Linked DNA regions of Homo sapiens: region 1 is linked to region 2. The links are contacts of gene promoters, found by promoter capture Hi-C in blood cells and fetal thymus (Javierre and others, 2016). All regions are on one chromosome and are shown on one strand. Each heading gives the region's core, a stretch centred on a gene start or on the middle of the fragment in contact. The rest is flanking DNA. Distances are from core to core; before and after follow the strand shown. Region 1 has its middle 22 kb from the start of LINC02104. Region 2 holds the start of EGFLAM-AS5 (EGFLAM antisense RNA 5).

The links. The method cuts DNA at HindIII sites, captures the fragments that hold promoters and counts their contacts. A CHiCAGO score of 5 or more calls a contact.
Region 1: a contact is called between a fragment that was not itself captured here and the fragment with the promoter of EGFLAM-AS5 in region 2, in 1 of 17 cell types (naive CD4 T cells). The highest score is 6.0, in naive CD4 T cells.

Annotation. Positions count from the first base shown.
Region 1 is chr5:39,538,670-39,545,381 of GRCh38, forward strand. No RefSeq gene overlaps it. Among named protein-coding and RNA genes, the nearest start is that of LINC02104, 22 kb to the left of the region's middle. The HindIII fragment of the contact is 947 bases long and covers 3,974-4,920 here.
Region 2 is chr5:38,464,613-38,471,856 of GRCh38, forward strand. EGFLAM-AS5 (EGFLAM antisense RNA 5) reads right to left here and starts at 3,754. Exons shown (of 2, transcript NR_199676.1): 1 at 3,627-3,754. It overlaps EGFLAM (EGF like, fibronectin type III and laminin G domains), which reads left to right. Exons shown (of 22, transcript NM_152403.4): 22 at 1-868. RefSeq lists enhancers at 1,654-2,853, 4,221-5,092. The HindIII fragment of the contact is 4,194 bases long and covers 3,038-7,231 here.

The sequences.
Region 1 (6,712 bases), core at 3,197-5,696, 1.1 Mb after region 2:
GAAGATCATGCCATTGCACTCCTGCGTGTGCGACAGAGTGAGACACTGTCTCAGAAAAAAGAGAGAATTTAAGTAGGGCGAAAGCTGAAAAGGGGTCACATGATAAAAAAAAATATAGTAAGTCATTTGGAATACTTTGAAAAGAAAAATAATTGTGTTTTATTTATGGAGTTTCTAGACAGTGTTTTCAAATGACAAAGTCAATTTTCCACTGTTAACCAACTCTAGAGATCACGCTAATTTTTCATGTACATCAAGCAATACAATCATACGAAAAAATGAAAGCTTGCTACTAGGTAATTAGGCATATGTCACATCATCATTTGAGCTGAATGGAGTCACCTGGCAAGCTTGATGCATGGAAAGACAGCTTGTATGGCTGAAACAGAGTGAGAAGAGAGGACAGATTTAAGAGATGGCATCAGATAGGACTTTGAGGAGAGAGTGCAGGTCTTGAAAAATGATTGTATGGACTAGGATTTCACTCTGAATGAGATGGGTAACTTAAGGAGATTTGGAGTAGAGGAATGACATGCTGTGACTTATGTTTTCACAGGATCACTCCAGATACACTGTTGAGAAAAAAGTATGGGGCAAGGGGAGATGAAAGCAGACAGACCAGTCTGGAGGCTACTGGGATCCAAAATCGACATAAGAGTTGCTTGGACTAGGGTGGTAACTGCAACTATGGAGATAAGAATTCAGATAGTAGATGTGTTTTGAAGGCAAAGCTCACAGAGAAAATACTAGAAAGAAATTAGAAACTGTGCATACACACATTTGTTTTTCCTAGGGCTTTTTTTTTTCTCTTTCAGTAAAAACCAGCTGATTGGAGATGGAAGCAATGTTGAGATGAATTGTTTTCCACACTGAAAGAAACACAACGTAGTTGGATGATAATGAGAAAACTGTAGTGGTAAGGAAAAACTTAAAACAGGGGCAAATGGCCAGAGCAATGTCCTTGAATAGATAAGAGGGGAAGGGAGCTATGCCAAGGGGAAGGAATGGCCCACTCCTGCTTAGCCCTCTGTACTCTGACCTGATACCTCCCAAACGCTTGAGTAGATCCCTTTTTAATGCTAATAACTCTGAAGGACGATCTATGTTAGTGGTTGTACTCTGAGTACTCACTGATGAAGAAAACACAGAATTATGACTTTTTTTTTTTTTTTTTTTTTTTTGAGATGGAGTTTTGCTCTTGTTGCCCAGGCTGTAGTGCAGTGGTGCGATCTTGGCTCAATGCAACCTCTGCCTCCTGGGTTCAAGCGATTCTCCTGCCTCAGCCTCCTGAGTAGCTGGGATTACAAGGGCCTGCCACTATGCCCAGCTCGACCTCCTGGGTTCAAGCTATCCCCTTGCTTCAGCCTCCAATATAGCTGGGACCACAGGTGCATGACATCACGTCTGGCTAATTTTTTGAGTTTTTGTAGAGACAGGGGTCTCACTTTGTTGCCCAGGCTGGTTTCAAACTGGGCTCAAGTGATCCTCGTGTCTAGGCTTCCCAAAGTGCTGGGATTACAGGCACCGTGCCCAGCCATAAATTCTCTTTATCATTGCACACAATCGATAGTTCCCTTTTATTTGAAAGTTTCTTCTGTGTTCTTCTTCAGAAACACCAGTACATTCTAAATGTCTCCTATCTCATTGATTGCTGTACAGCTATCAATGTATAGATATATAGCTCAGATATATATATATATATACACATATACATATATATATATATATAGAGAGAGAGAGAGAGAGAGAGAGAGCTGGGCATGGTGTTCCATATATACAGATATATATTCGTATTTTTAGTAGAGACGGGGTTTCACCATGTTGGTCAGGCTGGTCTCAAACACTTGACCTCAGGTGATCCACCTGCTTCGGCCTCCCAAAGTGCTGGGATTACAGGCATGAGCCACTGTGCCCAGCCTGACTTTATTATCAATACTAACAAGCATTAAATTACATTTAAGAAAAGTCATGCCATAGGCATTTTGTTATTGCGATTCAGACCATACCCAATGTCTGGTGCATATATAGACGAACATATCCCTTGAAACTCTAAAGATTTACGCCTACAGTTCACAATTTGGAAAGCTTGCTTTAGTAAAACTGCAAAGCCCTTGGTTTTCTGAATATGCCTGGGTTATTTTGTACATGCTGTTTCCTCCAGGAGGCCCTTTCATCTTACCCATCCTTAAGGGCATAGTATAGTTTCTCCTCCACTCAATCACAGTTAGACTTCACATTTTCCTTTGTGTTCCAATAACCATTTATTCTTTCTTTTTTTTTTTATTTTGAGACGGAGTCTCACTCTGTCACCCAGGCTGGAGTGCAGTGGCGTGATCTCGGCTCACTGCAAGCTCCACTTCCCGGGTTCACGCCATTCTCCTGCCTCAGCCTCCCGAGTAGCTGGGACTACAGGCGCCCACCACCACGCCTGGCTAATTTAACCATTTATTCTTGCACTTTGAAATACTCGTACTCCATTTATGTAATAATTGAATATACAACTTAAACCTTTGCACCCTTAAACACTAAATATATGTCATGTGCAAATACATATGTGTATACATATGTTTTCTCTTCTATCGTCTAAGGTTATTTCAGAATGAAACTATGTCGTGTTCATTTTTGTTTTCCAAGAGCGGATAGTTCAGACTAAATGGAACAGAAAAATGTGAGAGATTGGATTTATTTTGTGGTGTTCCAGAGGACAGAATTTAGATTAGTGGGCAAAGTGGAGAACAAGATAGACTTGGCTTAATAAAAGGAAAGACTGAATGACGTTTTGAAATTTTAAAAATGGGATAGACTGTTATTGAAGACAATGAGTAACTGAAACTAGCCAAGTAATTTTTCTCCCTACGACTATTTAAGTTCCTAGCACTATACCAAGTATATAACATATAGTATCACATTTAGTCTTTATAATGTTCTAACAAATAGAGGCATTTTAGTCATCCCGGTTTTACTTGAAATGGTCAAGCAACTTGGCTCAGTATGCAGCTTGTAAATGACAGTGCAGGAATTAGAACTTGAGTCTGGGTAATGTTCGGCTCTAGATATTTAACCTGAATGCCTTACTGTGTAGGAGGGATTCTCACGTTGGGTAGAAAGTAAAAGTTACAAAGGTTGCAAAGGAATATAAAATACTAAAAATATGCAAATGACCTAAGTAGCTTCCTATGCTTTGAGTATAGTTGAGCAGGCCTGCTTTCAACAAAAGAGGGGAGAGATAGGCCCTTGAAAGAGAGAGAAACCAGTCTATAGTGAGGGGCTCAAGATAAAAGTCTTTTACTTCTTTTTACCTCCATTTATTCTAAGATCGAAATTATCCTTGATTCAGGATGACAACGGGTCAAAGATCATTGATAACCATATTCTGATGAGATCAACATCCAGTGGGGCTTTGGGTAGCTTCGAAGACTGCTTCAAATGTTGAGAGGACACATGAGCCCTTGGTCACTGGGCATGACTCATAGACTATGTCATTAATATCACCACGATTCTCAGCATATGCCTGAAGTACAGCAAGCACTTTATTAATCTTATCTCCTTTCTCCTGAGTTATCTTTGAGTCCATACATATTCTGAAGTAGTTTTTTATTAGAATTAACATATAAAAGAATCGTTTTTTATTTGATAATGTATTTTCTATGAATATAAGAACTAATACTGTACATTTATATGGTGAGCCACTGATCTAGTTCTTCACAAAAGGAGAATGACATATTTTTGAAAATCTTTTATTCTTGATGTATTTATTCAAGAAAATATACAATTAAGTAGCTATATGGGACTAAGATGTTGAGCAAAAAAAAAAATCCTATATGAACTTTCTCATCATATTTCAAGATGCTTGCTCTTTCAGCAAATAATCTGACTTGACATTGAAAAGCTCGGAGGACTGAGGGAGGTATTACCATCTCATTCTATTGTTTCTGTTAGTTATTTTGATAATCCACTCAGCATAAGTGAAGAAAGCTTTATTCAAGTGAACATCAACTTCACTTTCCATTGAACTGTGACCTTAAAAAACCAATCTCTTAACTTCCTTTGGGGAGACATATGACTGACTGCCTTGTCAGCAAGCTCCTTTTCCTGAATCTAAGTTATTTCCTTTCCTACAGAGAAAAATTGCTGTTATCACTTCCAACTGTTTTAGTAATGGCCCTTTTCATGTACAGTAAATGCTTTTTTTTAAGTGCATGTCTCTTCCTTTTTGCTTATTAGCTCAAAATTTGTTTATCCTAAAGAAAAATGTAAGGATATAAGCACATTTCATGTTCTTTGGAAAAATCAGCATTTACACAGATTTCCGACACAAAAGACAGCTAAGAGTTCTCCAAAAAGTCTATTTTAAAACATACATTTCAAATATCTAAACACAAGAGAAGCATGGTCTAGTTAAATCCAGCATCACCCAAATACTTCCCAATTTCTTTATCTTATGAGTTTTTTTTTTTTCAGTTTTTATTCTATGTGGCTTTTCTCTAACACTTCACACTGGAACTGCTTCAGTCGGGCTGGACATTTCCTCTTTCCTTGGCTTTTGAGACACTGGTCCATCCTGATTTTTTTCTCTTGATATCTTTATCTCCAGCTTCTTCACTACCTCCTCTCCATCCTTTTTCAGTTCTTTAAGTGCTCTGTCCCAAGCTCCCTGCTCCCTTTACATACTCTAACTGGACATTCTCTCGTGCACTCACCTAGCTTCAAGCCTCCTCTATTCACTGATTGTTCCCTCATTTAGCCAGTCTGCTTTGAACTCCAGGCCCAAATGACTCCTGGGAAGCTCCTCCTAGATGTTCTTCATCACCTTAAAGTATTGCATCTCCAAATGAACTCATTCTCTTCTTCTCAGCCAGTTCTTCCTGTGTTTCCTATCTCAGCAAGAATATCTGCATATCTTACACGTCCAGACACCAAAGCTTAAAATCCCTTAGTCATTCTCAATTTAATTCTACTATTAAAGATTTCTCATCTCTGTTCCTTCTCTTCCTTCCTCATTGTTATATACTGAGTTCATGCACTCACCAGCTCTCCAGATCATGTCGTCTCCCAACTCCCTAGTTGCTCATCTATTTCATATTGATATTGAGACTTACTGTTAAAATGGTATTCCATGCATCATTATTTCACTTTAAAACCTTTAACAATTCTCCATTTTATATACAGAAAAATTCCAAACTCCTTAACCGGTTTGGAATTTCCCATTTTCAATTGGAATTTTCACTCCTTACCAGTTAAGGAGCTTGGAATTTGAATCAATTGATTTGGTGAGGCCCAGCCCTCACTATATTCTCACCACCCCGCTGACAGAGGCATAGGCATTAACTGCCTCACAATCTTTGTATCTTTTTGTCTTTGCTCATGCCATTATTATCTCTACTTGATATTATTTCCTCTATTTTTTTTTCCTGCCCGATGATCGATGCCATTCATTTTTTAAGAGCCCTTTCAAATGCCATCTCTTCTTTAAGTCTACCTTGCCTTCTCCAGCTTTGTATGTTCTCCCTCTGCCCTGACTGCCCTCAGCCCCTACCTTCACACTGGCATCCACAGTCCTGGATTTTAAATACTATACAGTAGGAAATGGCATTTAGAGAGCAGGGAATACATTTTCTTCTTCTCTGAATTATAAGAGTCTATCATTTTGTTCAACTTGTGGTAGGCATTTAGTTCTTATTTGCTAAATATGTTGAATTAATGGATGATGATGAAAAAATCTTAACAGCGGCCCAACTGAGGCCAAATACCTATTCTAAATATCCGTATGTTATCTGTATTTTTTTTTTTTTCTTCCAAGGAACTTTGTTTACCTTCCACATGTAAGAAGCTCTTAGTGGGACTTCTGAGGTTGGTAATTAGGACCAAGGCTGAGGACAGGAAAGTATTTAATATCTGAACTGACAGTCACCAGAGTCAGAGCCAAAGCTTCTTAAGAGGTGATGGATGCAGCAAACTGCTGCCAGCCTCCGTCTTCTATATAATAAGACTGGGAACAAGACAGAGAGGAGCAGATCCAAGGGTCATTAGAATGCGGTGCGTTTGAGATAAGAGGAAATTCCCTGCCTTCCCCAAGGGAGGGAAGGGAAATTAGAGTACCTGGTCTTTCTTCCTAAAACCTCCTGAGAGGCTCTAAGAGACTCATTTACAAAGGCTGTCATATAATTTAGTTACCTAATTGGACATCTGCTGAGGAAAAGGACTTGTGGATTTACCTCTTCATCATAGGAGCAGGGGAGAACAGTCTTGGAGAGAGAAGAGATGTAGGGGTAGTGTGGATTCACCCAGTTTCAGAGCCAAGACAGGTGATGCCTGAGGTTCAAGTGGATGCTACTTTGAATGTAGCTGGGCTTGTTCAACCTCCTTTCCAAGACAGATTCCCGGCAACACGAGGCCATGCACTATATGGCCAGCAGTGAGAGCTCAGGGGCTTGAAAAAGTTGGCTTAAAATCACTGAAGCTCCAAAAACTCATACCTTTATTCCCCAGAGCTAGAATTTGAAGGCCTGCCTTGCAGATGATATCAACAGCTAGGCTGTGCTGGCCAGAAAAACAGCAGGAACCAAGAGGGAAAGGTTATGATAGCAGCCTGCTAGCATTACACTCTTTCCTTTCCCTGTTCTACCTCTCAGCTCGATACCATGAAGAGGAATACAACAAGGGGAATGCAAGGTGATGGTGTACCTGAGGCAGACTCCTAATTAGAGAGGGT
Region 2 (7,244 bases), core at 2,504-5,003:
CTTCTTATAATGCAGAGTTAAGGAGCTGAGCCCCCATGATTTTGTAGCTGTACTTTTGTATGTGTATATTTTTATAGCTGCAGATTGTCCACACAGTATACTTTTGGAAGTTTGGGTGGATGACTCTGAATTCTTGCACACCTTTCCTAAAAATTTCTCCCAAGAGAGACTTGTTTGGGCCTTTTGTGGTGTCAGTGGAATGGATAGGTAACTTGGGTGGGCAACTTGGGGAGCTGACCATTCTCTTTTGGTAAATGTTGACGGCTCAAGAGGATGAATATGAAGCTTTCCAAGATAAGCAGATTAAAAGGAACATGTGTTACCGAGGTAGGTCACTGTCATTTTTGTTTTAAGAGTTGGGGGGAGTATCTATAGTAAACTTGAATAAAGGGGACAAAGCTAGAACTTATTCATTCATTCATTCACTTATGGAGTTGTTACTGATTTTGCGGAGGTCAGGTTCATACCAATGGACACTAATACAATCAGTGTTCCCAAGGCTGTGCAGGGGTGGGGGGACATGCTGTCAGGATGGTCTGAGCATCTGGGTGAGAACCAGAGAAACAGGACTTCTTCCTTCTGTACCATGAGCTGTGTCCCTTTACTATGCAAGCACATGACCCCAGAGACAGCTGGTTCACTGGCAGATCCCCATGATGGACTTACTAAGGGAAAGGTGAGATGAACACTGCCCCCAAGGAGGGGGTGAAATATGATCTAACTTATGCAAGAGCCTATAATTAGTCCCAGTCTCGACTCTACATTTGTTTGTGCAGCATTCATTCAGCAAAGACTTTTGGGGTTTGTGCAAGGCACAGTTTTAAGCACATAATGTAATTCTAAAAGATGAATAAACTAGAGAGGTTCACTTTGTGCCCCAATCTCCTGTCTTTGGGAAGCTTTGATGGCCAGGATCCTTTCTCCCAGAGGAATCATGGTTATCATCATCATCATCATCATCATCCACTCCTAGACACATAATCTTATATGAGTGCAGTCCGGAGAAAGGCCACATGGTAGAAAGTGGGTCCTCCACTTCCCAGACACCCTTGCCTCAACACCTCTTCCTTTGATACTGCTGGGGCCAGTGCTTCCCAAGATGTCATGGAGTTGCTTTTACAGGCCATTTTGATGGATTCCCTCCAGCCATACATATCATTGTGATCTTAGGCCATTCAGCTGAATTGAAGCTAGAAGAGCTGTTGCTAATGAGTTGTTGTTCCACGAAAGTGTTATCCAGAGAAAAATGCAATGACCCAGGGATGCAGGCCTGGGAGTAGAACCATTTGCCTCTGGGTGGGAAGCAGATGAGGCTAAGGGGAGAAGAGTGACGTGATGACAGGGTCAGGGGAGTAGGGATCTGACAGGTGAGAGAGCAGCAGAGTGGAGGGACCCAGGAGGAGCTGGTGACCTGGGAGGCTCAGGGTCAGAGGACAGGGTAAGAGACAGTGTATCCCATGTGGGCTCCTGGGTGTCCTGTTGTCTCTCTATGTGTATCTGCTGTCATGGCCACAATAATGCTGCATAACAAAAATCACAAAACTGCAATGGCATGCAGCAACGAGTGTTTATTCCTCATGCGCCTTAAGTGGTCAGCTTGGCAGCTCTGCCAGTCTTGGTTGGGCTTGACTAGGTGGATCTTCCGGTGTCCGTTGGACTTGCTCACACGTGTCAGGGTTGCTAATTCAGGACAGCCTTGGCTGGGTTGGTGAGGTGGCTTGTGTCTGCTCCGTGTGTTTCTTGTCCTCCTCCTGGGCTAATGGGCTGGCCTGAGCATGCCCTTCTCCTAACAATGGGGGAGGGCACGAGCACGAGAGTAAAGGTGGAAGGCCTTTCACAGCCTCGGCTTGGCACTGCCACACCCCAGTCATCTGTGGATTCAAGAGAGGAAGAAACGGGCCGGCCCCCACGTGACATATGGGCTCTTCTCCAGCATGAGAGAACTACCAAGCTGCCCGGTGGAGGGCATGGACTCAGGAGCAGTGGAAAAGCGTCACTGCTGATGCAATCGGTCTACCCCAGCAAGTCCTACGTCATTCACAGCAGGGTGCAGTAGGGAGGCCGTGACCCCCTGGCCATAGGTCTTCTCCGACCTTCTTTAACCCTTGGGGCTGGAGGCGAGGTCCATGATGTTCTCAGTGCCCAGCCAGGCCAGGCCTGATGCGAGCAGCACCCGCCCTCCCCCATCGCAATGCGGTGCCCTCTCTTCCCCTTGCCCTCCTTCCACATGCTCCCTGACACTTGGCAGCTGGCCCCGTTGCTGTTCTGAGGAGGAGGGACTGGACCGGCTGGAAGATGGGATCTGTGCCTGGCTTTTGGGTAGCCGCTGTGGGGAGAGCATGTTGAAGGCTGGCCAGGCTCTTGGCTGAAGAGAAAGGTTTGGGGTGTCGCCAGGGAGCTCAGAGGCTAACAGCAGTCCCTGTCCTAGGGAGGAAGGATGGAGTGGGGCACGGGATCCTGAAAAGCTTTTCTCCCACAATCAGGGTCTGAGGAAATTCCCCGGAACCTCCCACATGTTCGAAGCAAGGGTGACCGGGTGTGGGGTGAGGATGTCCTTGCTTTTCCTATTAAGATGGCCTCCCATAACCCTGCATGTTCCTGGAGGCCCCACCTCAGGATTTCTCTCAGGAAGGTCTGTGGGGGTCTTCTGTGTCCCCCTTCTGCGGCTGCCCAGGCAGCTGCCCCGGCCTGCCCGCCGCTCTGAAGGCCGTGCCACTCTCCCACCCTGGTATTTGTCTTTCATTTCCTGACCCAGTCCTGCTCCCTTCTCCCGGCCCTCCAACACAAACAGGCCGGCTGGTGTCCACACACAGACTGCCCTGCTGGCACGGGCACTGGCGCTTTCCTGCTGCTGCCCCCTCTCCTTCCTCCCTGCCCACCTCCTCCCCTGGCCCTGCAGGAGCTGCTACCCCCTCCCTGCGTGGGAGGAAGGAGCTCGGAAAAGCGCCCGGAGTTGGAGCTGGCAGGCCCAGGGCTTTCCACTTGGAGGAAACGCTGCATTTTTCACCTTTAACCCAGAAAAATATGGTTCTCAGAAAGCTTGTTTTTAGCACTGTGAGTTCCCAAAGGAGGAAGAATAGGCAGTAGGGGGGCCCCCAGCCTCTCTGAGCTCCGACAGCAACCCCCACCCCAGAAGGCCGTTCTTCCTGGGAGGGAATGACCGAGGGGCAGCCTGCAGAGGCCCAGCTCCGAGAAAATAAAGGCAGAGAATTCCAGCTCCAAGCGGAAAGACAATACTTTAGGAGAGGAGCCTGGACAAGGCATGAGCCGCTTCCCACCTCCTCCCTGCCTCTTCCAGCTCCTGCCCAGTCCAGGAACGCATAGTAGTTGCCCTTGGAGCTGGGGGTCAGTCCGGGCGTGCCCACCACCGCCCAGACCCTTAGCTGAGAAGGGGGTAAGATTAGCTTATCAAAGGCGGGAACGACGTTCTCCAGCACTTTCTCCCTGCAGTGGGGAGAGAGCTGCCAGCATGGAATCAAAATTAGAATCTGAAATCAGGGGTCGTACAGCTTTAGCCCACTCCCACGTTATTTGTCAACATGGAGATGTGGGTCGTCCGACGGTATCCGAACTAGGGACTTATCCGGCACACGCTAAACAGAGAAGGGAAATGTAAGCAGCCCTACCTCAACCATTGTGAGGCCAGAAGTCCCAGGGCTGCCGGCATTTAAGCTGGTGGGTCCCGTGGAAGTGACAGGCTGCCGTAAGGAAGTTCCAGCTTACAGGTGGCTATGTTCGGGCCAGCAAAATGACTAATCCAATGCAACAGCATCAGCTGGCTTCTGGGCTAGGCCCTGTGAGTAACCGCACCGCAACCTCACAGTCAAAGAATGTTCACATATTTGATCTTCATAACAGTCCTCCTCCTATGATGGCTGGAGCAGATGGGCATGGCCTATTTGACTTAGGAAGACAGACACTGGCCACAAAGACTGGGTGACTTGCCCATGGTCCCATCACGAGGACGCAGCCACGATGCTGTCCCGTGGAGCTTTTCTGCCCTCACCCTGACCTCTGGTCAGGTGCAGTCTGCCCAGGGACACCCGCATTGTTGAGGGACATTCTGAGGCTCCCTTGGGTTAGCTGTCGTCTGCAGTATAGTCGTGTAAGTGAGGGAGATTCGGACAAAGGCCATGTCCCAAGAGTCTGCTTGCCAACGCATGCCAGTTTCTCATCACAGCCCTGAATCTGCCTTCTTTCAAAGGCCTTCTGTTGCAGGGACTCTGGGTTGAGCAAATCTGAAAGCAGAAACTAAAGAGCTAGTCCAGCAGGGTGGGATTCAGGCCCCTCTACGGGCAACTGGGTGTAGGTTAAATTCTTTTCCCTTCCCTCCTTTGCTTTCATCTCCACAAATAACCTCCATAACCCTGGGGAGTGGTTGCAAGCTATTTCTGCCCAGCAGCGTGTTCCCCTGGGCCCCTGCCTCGCCCCAGCCAAGCCACGAGCTGAAAGAACAGGGAAGGCAGCTGGGAAAGGCCTCCCCTGCCGCTCCTCTTCTTCCCGCTTGCTCTTGCTGAGGCATCTTTGTCCTAGAAAGTTCGTAGCTCCCAGGAGCACTTGCCATTTCCTGGAAAGACGGGAGAGAGAACATTATGTCTCAGCCCCTGGGAGGATGTCTCTTCTTTTCTATTTATCCATCTTGTCTTTCAGTTTTGCTCAAGATGCAAATGGTGTCCAGAGGCATAGAAATTTCCCAGCATGTGGCATGGCCTCCCCCGATGTCCCAGCTGCTCACCTACAAGCCAGGGCCCAGCCCGGGGCTATGACCTCCCCGAACAGCCTGCTGCCAAGGGGCTGCAGTTCTGACTTGGCTAGGAGAGGACTTGAGTTGGAATGTCTCTTCGAAGGAAGGCCAGGGAGGCTCAAGAAATTTGCCGTTTATACTCACTTAATAACAAAAGTAAGAGGCACCAGGCCAGGGGCTTAGCTAAGGAAAGCCCTGTTAGGAAATTGGCCAAAAGAAAGCGGAGGCAGAGAAAATGGACTATGAGGCAGAGAGAGCTGTGGGAGGAGAGGGGTATGGGGCCGCAGGGGTCGCAAGGCTCAGTGCGTGGTGACTTCCGGCCCTGCCGGTAGCATTCCATGTTCTCACTGAACGTGGGGTTCAGAGAGCAACTGTGGGGGTTCAGAATGAAATGGGGGGCCCTGTCTAATACAGTGGAAAGTGGAACACAAGCCGATTGCTTGTCCAGGTCACATTCACACCACCTCAGAAATGAAAGAAGCCTGGGCGATCTCTGTTCCAGCTCCACACGGGGCTAGAGAGGTAAGAGGATGTGCCCAAGGCTGGGGGCCTTATCCATGTGACTGCCTCTGGCCTGGAAGCTGGGAGCCCTTGGGAGTGGGTTGGGAGGCTTTGGGGGTGGGGAATGGAGGGTGAGGAGCGGATGGCCTGCGGGCCCTCGCAAGGATTACTGTAGTTGCCCCCTCCAGGCACTCGCCCACACAAGGTCGGTTGACATTTCATTGACACTCACTGAGGACGAGCTATTCACAAACCAGCCCCTGGCCAAAGTGCCAGTGAGGATATAAAGGATAGAGAGGACTCAGCTCCCCCTGTCAAGGTGTCGCCTGGGCTGTGGTCTCACCTGAGGCTCACTTGCTCTTTGTTTCTTCAAAGCCAGGGGAGACTTTCTTTAGGCAGGGCCCAGTCCCTCTCATAAGAGGTCTCCTCAATAGGTCGCCCACCCAGGATCATCGCCTATTAACTCCAAGTCAACTGATAAGTAGCCTAATTATGGGAGTGACAACACACCATTTCCACAGTTCCATGCAAGCATCTCGGGGGCCTTCGTAGAGTCCTGCCTACCACAACCCTGATCAACTCTAACTTTCAGTCTCTCCCACCTCCAGATGATACCTCCCCAAAAACCAAGTTCATTTTCCTAAAATGCACCCTCTGTCCTGTGCCATCCCAACTAAAGGCTATGCCACGGTCAGCTGTGTCCCTAAACAATGAGTCAAACACTCATAAGATAAGGGGAGTTCTGTTCTCAGAGAGCATAACCGTACTTAAAAATTCCTATTTATAGTTCCTGAAAATCCTGTGTTCCTGGGGTCCAGGGACCCTTTGCCATGACTAAGGACCTAGGCTGGGGTACAGTTGATGGTGTGGGTGCCCAGGGGGATTGAGGAAATTGTCAGGCAGCTGCCCTTTCCAGTGGCCACTCAGCATGACCCCAAGCAGCCCACAACTTAGAGGAAATAGCAGGGAATCCATGGAACTCTGCATCAGCATCTTTGGTAGCCAGTTACTTATAAAAGACAGTATTTTATGACACAGAAAAGTTGGTTTGGGTGTTTTTGTGTATAAGGTGCCAATGGCTTTTAGTATGAAATTCAGATGTCAAACTAATGCCAAACACTTTTGCTTGACTTTCAAAGTTATCCATTATTTAATGAAAAGTATGAATATAGAAAAATGTCCAGAATACAGAATAGTTCATCCATACATTGGGATTTCATATATCCATGAAAGAGTACCATATATGAAAAGATTTTCAAAATATGTGAAATAAAAATTCAAGTTCCAAAACAGAATCTACAATTCTTTTATATATGCACACATATACATATATATGAATAGACATGTACATATATACACACACATATTCACATAGGAAAATATTTCCGAAAGGATAAAAAGTAAAATGTTGAAAAGACCTAATGCTGCATAAAAAGATTGCGTGGGCCCAGCATGGTGGCTCACCCCTGTAATTCCAGCACTTTGGGACGCTGAGGCAGGCAGATCACGAGGTCAGGAGTTCGAGACCAGCCTGGCCAACATGGTGACACCCCGTCTCTACTAAAAATACAAAAAATTAGCCGGGTTTGGTGGCATCAGTCTGTAGTCCCAGCTACTGGGGAGGCCAAGGCAGGAGAATCGCTTGAACTCCGGGAGGCGGAGGTTGCAGTGAGCCGAGATCACACCACTGCACCCCAGCCTGGGTGACACAGCGAGACTCTGTCTTGGAAAAAAAAAAAAAAGATTGTGTGATTTCTTTTTCTTTTCCATTGATTTTCTAGTTTTTCTTCAGTGAGTATTTTTTGTTCTGTCTACTCAGGATATCACCTCTTTTGGAGGGACTCATCTTTCTCCAACTCTTGTGAAAATGTCCTTTGAATAGAACCTATGTCCAGCCACAGGACTGAACCAGGAATGAGCACATGACAAGCCAGGCCAGAGTGCTCGCCAGATCACTGTGAGGACTCCCCTGATGGCAAGGCCATAAGCTTGGAGGAGC